Linked DNA regions of Homo sapiens: region 1 is linked to region 2. The links are contacts of gene promoters, found by promoter capture Hi-C in blood cells and fetal thymus (Javierre and others, 2016). All regions are on one chromosome and are shown on one strand. The core of a region is centred on a gene start or on the middle of the fragment in contact, and the rest is flanking DNA. Distances in the headings are between cores, read along the strand shown. Region 1 overlaps SEC16A (SEC16 homolog A, endoplasmic reticulum export factor). Region 2 holds the start of AGPAT2 (1-acylglycerol-3-phosphate O-acyltransferase 2).

Region 1 (4,942 bases), core at 226-2,725, 230 kb after region 2:
TTGAGTGCCTCCTGTCCTGAAGTAGGGACACAGCAAGCGCGGTGGTGGCAGGCGGGCAGCGCTGCAGAGCGGCCACAGGCGGCTTCCACAGGGCAGGTCTTGTTCTCCCTCAGGAGGGGGCTGGAGTATGGCATCAGGATGGAGCCCTCCCGCAGCAGTGTCCTGGCACTCCGAGTTCCGAGATGGAGCAGTTGGACAGGCCAGGACTCAGTCAGCCAGGAGCCCTGGGGATCGCCAACCCTCTGCTGGCGGTGCCTGCACCGAGCCCTGAGCACTCGAGCCCGAGCGTGCGGCTGCTGCCCTCAGGTGAGCCCAGGTGCGCGGCTGCTGCCCTCAGACAAGCCCCTGCTTCCTGTGGGCTGAGCCATGGCCTGCACCCTTGCCTCCTGGAGAACTGCTTTCAGATGTGGACTGTTGGAGGCAGTGTCTCACACCACCTCGGTGGTTGTGGGGCTCCTCGGTCTCCTCCCTCTTCCCTTCATGCTTCCTCCCCTGAGGAGCCCATGGAGGGGAGGCTCATGGCTTTCCATGTCCATAAATATCCATGTGCTGGCGACACTGCCCTGAGCGCCCGCTGCCTGCTCAGCCTCCCTGCTTGTTTCTCCGGGAGCCTCAGCCGCACCGTGTCTGGGCGGCGCCCTCGGCTGTGCCCCTCTGTAACCTGCTTCTCCCAGTCGGCCCCGTCGGTGGAAGGGCCAGCCCAGAGCTCCAGGGAGTCAAGTCCAGATGCCCCCTCCTCTCTCGCGCTTCTCGGCTTCCTTCGTCAGTGAACCTCACCAGCGCGGCCTGCACGCAGGTCCGCATGCCTGGATGAGCACGGGCTCCTTCCTGCTCGCCTCCTGCTTCTTCCCCAGACCCTCCAGACTCTCCATCTCACCTGAGGACAAGCCAGGGTCCTCACGGTGGCCACAGGCCCTCCAAGCTTGGCCCTGAGCCCTCCTGCCCTCGTGCCATGTCCACTCCCACGCTGTGGACCAGCCACACTCCTGATTTGGGCCCACTGCCCACCCTCCCTGCCTGATGTCCAGTCTGCTTCGTCCTCAGACACCGTTACCACTTCCTGGTTGATTGCTGTCCTTAGCGCTTTCTCTTACTCAGTTCATCTGTCCCGACCCCCATGAGGACCCAGCATTTCTTTTGTTGTTGAAGCATCCAGGGCCCAGCATGGTGCTGGTAGGCAGCAGCCCTCTCAGGTTTTATGTTGAGTCGGAAGAATGAAGGAATGAACGAGTGGCCTGTGTGACCCCTGGCCGTGGAGGAGGGGACTCGGGCCTAGCAGAGCTCTGTGCCAGGCGGCCGCCATGGGCTTGCGTGTGGGCCGGGCCCTGGAGCCCGCGTGCCGCTGTGACTGCTCAAGTGCCCCTCCCCTAGAAAAGGAAGCGGATACTCTGCTTTTCTGCAAACCACGGATGGTGCGGTGGGGTGGTGGCTTCAGGCTTTCTGCTCTGTTGGACCTCCCTTATAAAAGAAATGGGGCTGTACAAAATAACTTGTCATAAACACGTCGAGTGTCAGCTCCTTCCAGTAACTCAAGCTACCCTCAGTAACCCCAGACCTCTTCTCCACCGTTCCCATGCAGCTCCGCAGACGCTCCCTGACGGCCCATTGGCCAGTCCTGCCAGAGTGCCGATGTTCCCAGTGCCACTGCCCCCGGGGCCCCTGGAGCCGGGTCCTGGCTGTGTGACCCCAGGGCCTGCACTTGGCTTCCTGGAGCCCTCCGGGCCTGGCCTCCCACCTGGTGTGCCACCTCTGCAGGAAAGGAGACACTTGCTCCAGGAAGCCAGGAGCCCAGACCCAGGTGGGGCTGCAGAGATGCTGTCTCGAGAGCAGAAGCAGCATGGGGTGTGGTGTTTGTGGGGATTGGTGGAAGAGATTGAAGTTATTTGAGCTTGAAACAACTTACATTACTTGTCTTAACGTAGACCAGAAATTCTGGAAGTTACAGACTGGATGGGTTCAGAGTCTCACTACAACAGCAGTGTTAATGCCAGTTCCTTTTGTAACTTGGCTTTTTGTTGTGAAGCTTAAATGGCCATTTGGGGCAGGGCATGGTGGCCATGGGTCTCCTGGGGTCTGTCTTTAGACGGCCCTGCTGGACGCCTGGTGAGATGCACAGGGGCAGGTCATGAACTGTCTGGAACTCGATTTGGTGGATCTTGTCCCTGGTCTGTGCCTATGTCTACATGTGTGTATATGGACAAAGCAAAACATAGGCCTAGTTTTAAAAATGAAAGAGTGTGCACACATGTGGGAAGATGTTCAGCCTTGGTTTCTGCAGATCATGCTGGTGTGGCGGTAGCTGGGTGGGAAGGTGGTGTGCCTGTTGATCTGTGCGCCACACACACGTCCCGCCTTCTCGTGACTGAGATCATAGTTGCTCTCTTTCCCGTTGACAGGGATAGTGCCGCAGGAGGCGCCTGTTGGAAACTCACTTTCCGAGCTAAGCGAAGAAAATTTTGATGGAAAATTTGCTAATCTGGTACTTTGTCACATTTTCTTAAACTGTTTGTTTTCCATAAAGTTCATCGAGTGGGCACCCAGACTCCTTGTTGAGTTGTAAGATGATGGTAGTGAGGACTATGAAATTGTTTCTAAAATTGTTTCTTAAAGTGAAAGTGCTTCTAAATAGCTTTCATCCTTAAAATATGAAGAGTTGGTGAAAACACTGGCAGGGAAAGATGGGGAAGAGAGAATTCAGTAGTGTAAAAACAGTTACTTTAAGTAGAAGAAATACCCAAATATCATGAAATCCCCTTATTAATTTTAATTCTTCCAAAATGGGTACCTTCTCTGATTTCTACATCTCTTTTTCTTTTTTTTTTCTTTTTTTTTTTTTTGAGACAGATTCTTGCTCTGTCGCCCAGGCTTGAGTGCAGTGGTGCGATCTCGGCTCACTGCAACCTCCACCTCCTGGGTTCAAGCAGTTCTGTGCCTCAGCCTCACAAGTAGCTGGGACTACAGGTGTGTGCCACCATGCCCGGCTAGTTTTTGTATTTTTAGTAGAGATGGGGTTTCACCATGTTGGCCAGGCTGGTCTTAAACTCCTGACCTCATGATCTACCCGCCTCAGCCTCCCAAAGTGCTGGGATTACAGGTGTGATCCACCAAGCCTGGCCTTTTTTTTTTTTTTTTTTTTTCCCTAAGACATAGTTTCGCTCTGTCGCCTAGGCTGGAATGCAGTGGCGCCATCTTGGCCACTGCAACCTCCGCCTCCCAGGTTCAAGTGATTCTCCAGCCTCAGCCTCCCAAGTAGCTGGGACTACAGGCATGTGCCACCATGCCTGGCTAATTTTTTGTATTTTTTGGTAGAGACAGGGTTTCGCCATGTTGGCCAGGCTAGTCTCGAACTCCTGACCTCAAGTGATCTGCCTGCCTCAGCCTCCCAAAGTGCTGGGATTAAGGTGTGAACCACTGCACCTGGCCATCTCTTTTTTTTTTTTTTTTTTTTTTTTTTTTTGAGATGGAGTTTCTCTCTGTCGCCCAGCCTGGAGTGCAGTGGTGCGATCTTGGCTCACTGCATCCTCTGCCTCCCAGGTTTAAGCAATTCTCTGCCTCAGCCTCCTGAGTAGCTGGGACTACAGGCGCCCACCACCACACCCAGCTCATTTTTTTTTGTATTTTTAGTAGAGATGGGGTTTCACCATCTTGGCCAGGCTGATCTTGAACTCCTGACCTCATGATCCACCTGCCTCAGCCTCCCAAAGTGCTGGGATTACAGGCATGAGCCACCCCGCCCAGCCCGGCCGTCTCTTTTTCTACAGTAGAATTTCTTTTCTAATTTTTTGATCTCACAAGAGGATGTCCTGGAATTCAGTAGAATTTCTAACATTGTCACTGGTTTTCCTGAAAGTGAGATTTATCTCATTAGACATGTTTGGTATAAATACCTCCTCTGTTTGCTCTACTCCTAACCAGGAGGGATGGTTGCTTTTATACAGACCGCATTCTGGAACCTTCTTTACAGATACCCAGCCCTTCACGGGCATCCCATCAGTAGGCGATTGCTATAGTTTGAACTTGCATTAGGTGTTTTACCCTTTAAAATACTGTGTCCCTGGAAAAGTAAAAATGAGGGTTGAGCTATTAAAAATTGGGACTTGACCCAGGAATAAATATTTTTAAAAATCATTGTATCTTTGAGAACACCCATCGCCCCCCTCTGGCCAGTCTTCCCTCAGTGCATGCTCACACTCCGTTTCTTCCAGCCCGGAATCTCCATCGAACGCCCTCATTTGCATTCTGAGTGCTGAGTGCTCCCAGACGGAGCTGCTTATTAAGTGCGGCTGGCTCTTCTCTAGTCAGGCCAGGTAGAGGCTCTGGGAGGCCCAGTCAGGGGGCTGCTCTCCCCAGCCCCCTTCCTGCCTCCCTCTGGTCACCAGAGTCATCCGGCCTCTCAGTGATGTATTTAGGAAACACGCCTGGGGAATTGCATCCCCCTCTCTCTTTCGGTTCCTGTGAGGAGCCCCAGGAGAGCCTGTTCTGCATTTCCTTGCGACAGACCCCCTCGAGGACGGTGCCAGACTCGGAGGCCCCCCCAGGGTGGGATCGTGCCGACTCGGGTCCCACGCAGCCACCTCTGTCTCTCTCACCCGCTCCCGAAACAAAGAGACCCGGACAGGCAGCCAAGAAAGAAACGAAGGAACCTAAGAAGGTAGTACAGCCTGCCCACGGTGCGCCTGGCGGCCGGGAGGGTTTGGGCAGGAGGCACGCTTCCCAGAGCGCCATCCTCTTAATTCACCACACATGCAAATAGCCTCCTGATACAAACAGCCGAGTGTCTACAGTGCACACGGCATGATGGGTGTCTGTGTATTTGTGCCTTCAGATAATAGGATAATAGCCCACCCAGGTCAGCATGGGGACACAGCCCGGCCCCCAGAGGTCGCCTCTGGCCACTACCTGTCAGACCCACCCGCAAGGGACCAGACGGCAGCCGCTGCTT
Region 2 (5,168 bases), core at 1,279-3,778:
CTCACATCTGTAATCCCAGCACTTCGGGAGGCCGAAGCGGGCAGATCACTTGAGGTCAAGAGTTTGAGACCAGCCTGGCCAACATGACAAAACCCTGTCTCTATTAAAAATACAAAAATTAGCCGGGTGTGGTGTCGGGCGCCTGTAATCCCAGCTACTCAAGAGGTTGAGGTAGGAGAATCTCTTGAACCCAGGGGGCAGAGCTTGCAGTGAGCCGAGATCACGCCACTGCACTCCAGCCTGGGTGACAGAGCGAGACTCCGTCTCAAAAAAAAAAAAAGAAGAAGAAAATCTCTTTTCTTGGCATCTCTGCCAGCCCATAAGATTCTCTGGAGCTTTACTTCTAGAAACAAATAATGTGTTAGCTTCCCAAATGTGGCATTATATTAAAATACACAGTACTTCCTCATCACTCCCCAAGTCCCTGGCCCGCCTCCTCTTGGATCTTGTCGGAGGAAAAGTGGACGTTTCTCTCAACACTTCTGCAAGGTGCAGAGAAGAGGGAGGAGGTGAAATTAGGTCTCACCCTCTTCAGGAGAGCAGTGGGCAAAACCCCACCTTGTCTGGGGAGGCAACAGGGTCACCGTGTGCTGCCCTGGCACTGTTCCTGCCAGCCCTGGCAGGAGTCTTCCGGCTCAGAGTCAGCCTCTTTTCCTCTGTCACGTCCCGGCTGTCTGGTGTTCACCCTTGAGAGCCTCAGTTTTCCCTCTGTAAAATGGGGATGCCTTTGCTACTATGGAAAGTGTGTGCTGAGCACCTGCTATGTGCCAGACATTGGCCTGAGTGCTGGTCGCACATGGTGCACAAAACAGATGAGGCCCCACGGGCTCCATTCCGGGGGGAGGAGAGGAGGGAGAGGTGTCCAACACACACACAGTCACCTAGGGGTGCAGGAAGATGGTGGCCACCCTGGAAAGGTCGGTGGGCTGGGAGGTAAAGGACAAGAAGGGGGCTGGCATGTAAAGCCCCTGGACAGGCCTGATGGTTGTGAGGACTGGATTCCACAGCCAGGGTACAACCTGCTCGGGACCTGGGTGCACAGAGCCTCCAGCTGAAGGTGCTGTGAAGCCCCACTCCTCCAGGAAGTCCACCTGGGACCCCAGCCCACACCCCCGCATCCCCCAGCTCCCGGCAGCGGCACTCCTGTCTGCAGGGTGCACCCACCTCATCTGCCCTGGAAGATGAAAACCCCGCAGCCGTCAGCAGCCACCTCTCAGCCTCTCAGAGGCACAGCAGTGCAGCTCTCAGACCTCCCGGCTGCGGGGTGTGCAGTTCCGGCTCCAAGCGTGGAAAGAGGTCAAGCCAGGCCCTCCAAGCTGATTCCAGATGAAGCCCATATGGATCTGGAAGGAGACTGGGCTGGAAAATGCTCTCCTGGGTTTCGCTGTAAGATGCCTACAGGCCTAAGGCAAAAGGATGTGTCTCCACTTTCAAGAAAAGCTGGGACCGCCTGGGCAGGGGCTGCTGAGCCCAGGCAGCGAGACCCCACGTCCTTCAGGACCGCAGTTCCCCATTCATTTGAAGAGCAGTTTCTGTATTTGTCATTCTCTCAGTACAGTTTGGGGGGTGGTTACAATGTTCAGGGAAATGTTTTAACAGCTCAACTCTGCATCTGAAAAAAGAGGGGCCGTGCTCCCCTGCTGACCCGTTAGAGCGCAGGGCGGCCAGCACTCCCGCAACTGCAGCAAACCCAAGAGTCCCTATGAGGAGGGACCCCAGGAAACTGCTTTTCAATCTCCATCTGCTCCCTGAGGTGGGACGCCGGGTGGGGGCCGGGCCAGGTGACTGCTGCCCTTGTCCCAGCTGCACCTTGCCCTGCCACGCTGGCCGTGCTGCCAAGCGGATGTGAACGCCGCCACCTGACACCCACCTCGCCTGCCCCCGGAGCGTCCCTGGTGACAAGGCTACTTCTGGCACCCAGGGTGGGGCAACCCAGCCCCGCCCAGACACACGCCCCAGTTGGCCTGCGCGCCCCCACGAGTCTCCCCGCAGGGGACCGAGAACACCCTAAGAGCCAGGCTTTCTGCCAGGTGGCCACTGGTCACTCGGGGGCGGTTCCGGCGGCCCTTTGCGTGGCCACCGGCCTGGCACGGGCGCATCCCCGCTGGTTTTACGCCCTTGGGGAGCTGTGGTTCTGCGCGCGGGAGCCTGTGGCTGCCCCGGCAGCGGGGGGAGGGGGCACCGGGCGGGGCAGGAGGCCCAGACCATGGGGGGCAGCGCCAGAGCCCGAGCCACCGGCAAGCCATGATGGGGGGGTCCCCTGGGACCGGGAGGGTGGGAGCAGAGCGCCAGAGCCTCGGTAACCTGGCAGAAGGCTGTGGGGAGGGAGCGTGGAGGGGAGGTCCGGGCCGGGTGACCCAGGGCGGGAAGGGGGGGCCGTGTCGGGGCGGGGTTGGGGACAGTGGCGGGGCGGGGCCTGGTGAGGGGACCGTGTCGGGGCGTTGTTGGGGACAGTGTCGGGGCGGGGCGCCGCACCTAGCCCTTCCCTGCCGCGCGCTCCTCCCCCACGCCGCGCCCCGCCCCGCCCAGCCCCGCCGCCCTCGCAATAAGGGGCCTGAGCGCGCGGGGGAGAAGCGGGAGCGGGAGCGGGAGCGAGCTGGCGGCGCCGTCGGGCGCCGGGCCGGGCCATGGAGCTGTGGCCGTGTCTGGCCGCGGCGCTGCTGTTGCTGCTGCTGCTGGTGCAGCTGAGCCGCGCGGCCGAGTTCTACGCCAAGGTCGCCCTGTACTGCGCGCTGTGCTTCACGGTGTCCGCCGTGGCCTCGCTCGTCTGCCTGCTGCGCCACGGCGGCCGGACGGTGGAGAACATGAGGCAAGGCCGGGGGCCGCCGGGAGGGGCCGGGGAACCGCCGCGCCGCTTCCGCTTCCCTAACTTTCTTCTGGGCTTCCCTCCTTCCTGCCCCGCCCGTCCCGCCCCGCTCCGGGGCTCCGGGGAGAGCGCGCCTGGGCCGGCGGCAGGCACAGGAGGGGGTCCCGGAGTCAGGGGGTCCCGGAGTCACGGGGTCAAGGAGCCGGCGTCACAGTGCCCAGCACCCCACCCCCCGCCCTGGCCCCGGGCGTCTACACCGGTTTCGGCCTCCGCCGCGTCCCTGCAGCCCGGCGTGGGGTTCCGGGGGTGGAGCAGCTTTCGGAGAGAAAGGGGGCCGGTCCGCGCTGGGAGAGGCTCAGCCCTGCTTCCTGAGCGGGGAAACCGAGGCCGGGGCGGCGGGGACTTGCCCCAGGGCTATTGATCAGGGCGCACGACGGCGTGGGGGCACCCCTCGGCCTCCCTCCGACCCCCTCCTGACTGTCCGCCCGGTGATGGGCGCACCTGTGGGGCGGGTTCCCCTTTCTCTCCCTTTCCTCTTCGCAGGGAGGTGGGGGACCCGGAGGGGACCTGCTTCCGTGCTGGGGAGCGCGCCCCTGGCCTACAGCTCCGGGGGCCCAGCTTCCAAGCGAAGGGAAGGAAGAGTTAGGACTAGGGTTCGGCGGGGCTGAAATTTTCCCCTGGACGCCTTCCAGAAGGTGGGAGCTTGGTTTTGCCAGGCTGGGGTTGGGGGCCAGAGGTCAGACTGGGCTGCCAAAGACGGCGGGGGCTGCCTGCTCCTGGGCGGGGTGGCTGCTGGAGAAGGCTCTTGCCTGCCCCCTCTCCCTGTTAGCCGTCCCCAGGCTGTTGCTACATTTCTCCCTGCCCTGTTTGGACTGCCCAGCCAGTGGCTTTTGCAATGGCCTGGGGTGGGGGCATTGTGGCCCCAGAGGCCCCCTTCCCCGTGGTTCCAGGGGCAGTGGGTGAGGGTTTGCTAGCTCCCTGCACTCGCTGTCCTTGCCAGCCCTGGGAGGGCACTGAGGCTGCTGGAACGGGCCTACAGTCATGGCTTCCAACGGAGCCCCAGAAGCTCCAGGAATATGAAGGAGGACCCTGGGCCTGATGGTGAGCATGGAGAGTCCGAGAAGGGCCTGCTGGCTGCTCAGCCAGACGTGTGTGACCAGTGGTGATGTGGGCCAGGTGGCCCAGGCCGGGGTCCCGGGGAGCGCACACTCCAGGGCTGGCCCAGGTGGTGACTGGCGCTGACGTCCCCAGTGGAGCACCCTTCAGCGAGGAAGGCAGTTTGCAGAAACAGGGAGTTCCTGGGGGCTGGGCTCTGGGCACCTGTGCTGGAATCTGTGAAGGCCTCACCTGTGGTTCTGGCCCTGGGATCCCCTGTAGGCAGGGGTCTCTGTGAGGGGCCCCCCTCAGCCCCTGGGGTGCTTCAGAGTAGGGGCGAGGGTGCGGCTTTCCCAGCTGAGGAGGGGCCAGTCTGTGGGTTCCTTGGGGTGCCCCCCACCCCGAGGAAATGGCTTGTGTGGTTCTGATGCCTGCAGGGCATCCTGTGCTGGGCGTGTCCTGGGGTGTGGACAGGGGACGGGGTCCTGTTCTTTTGGCAGAAATGATGGGGCACCTGACTTAGGAGACCCTGGAGCAGACCCCACTACTGAGCCAGGCCACAGGCCACGGGCCTCTTCATCGGCGGCCTCCTCGTGTGAGAAAGCCTGGCTTGTTCTGCAGGGGCCTCTGCCTGGACTTCCTAGCTGTTTTCCAGGGACCAAATCACAGTTCACCTGCTGCCCTTTCTATGGACCTGGCAGGCTGGGTTGGCTGGCACTGGCCCTGCTGCCCCACTGGGCCCTGTCCCCATCTCAGCTTGGAGATTCTGGCTAACCTGGGTGTCCTCGGGACCTGGGGCCTCTGATGGTGCTTGGATGGGACCCTCCTGCCGCCCTCACCTCTCCAGGGCAGCACCCAGGCTCAGGCCTGTGGAGTAGTGGCTTCCGGGACACTGGCTACTAACAGCAGGTGCTTTGTTCCTGCTTTGGTCCCTGAAGAGAAGGGAGGGCCAGAGGGCAGGGCAGTCTGGAGGAGAGGCCTGGGGCTCCATGGCTACCTTCCCCCACACCTCTGCACGTGCTCCCCAGGCCCCAGGGTCCCTGATGACTTCCAAGACTCCCAGCAATGGCTAAGAGTGGGGCTGTTGCGAACGTGCGTTCCCTCCGTGGGGGCCGTCGGGAGGGGTGAGAAAGGCAGATGAAGAGCAGGCGCTTTGTCACTCCAGGGAAGGGACCCGGGGGGCTGGAAGGGAAGGAGGGGATACTCGGCCTCTGTTCCTGCTGTACGCCACGGGTGCCTCCAGCCTCAGGAACAGGGATTCGCGTGT

Evidence for each region. Contacts are between HindIII fragments. The CHiCAGO score rates a contact against its expected background, and 5 or more counts as called.
Region 1: a fragment that was not itself captured here is called in contact with the fragment with the promoter of AGPAT2 in region 2 in 1 of 17 cell types (endothelial precursors); the score reaches 7.0 in endothelial precursors.

The regions. Positions count from the first base shown.
Region 1 is chr9:136,450,965-136,455,906 of GRCh38, reverse strand. SEC16A (SEC16 homolog A, endoplasmic reticulum export factor) reads left to right here. Exons shown (of 32, transcript NM_014866.2): 20 at 114-306; 21 at 1,580-1,798; 22 at 2,397-2,479; 23 at 4,499-4,651. Among named protein-coding and RNA genes, the nearest start is that of INPP5E, 14 kb to the right of the region's middle. The HindIII fragment of the contact is 1,101 bases long and covers 925-2,025 here.
Region 2 is chr9:136,684,817-136,689,984 of GRCh38, reverse strand. AGPAT2 (1-acylglycerol-3-phosphate O-acyltransferase 2) reads left to right here and starts at 2,528. Exons shown (of 6, transcript NM_006412.4): 1 at 2,528-2,809. The coding sequence starts at 2,628. RefSeq lists silencers at 1,802-1,881, 2,352-2,551, 2,772-3,341 and an enhancer at 3,062-3,923. The HindIII fragment of the contact is 21,227 bases long and covers 1-5,168 here.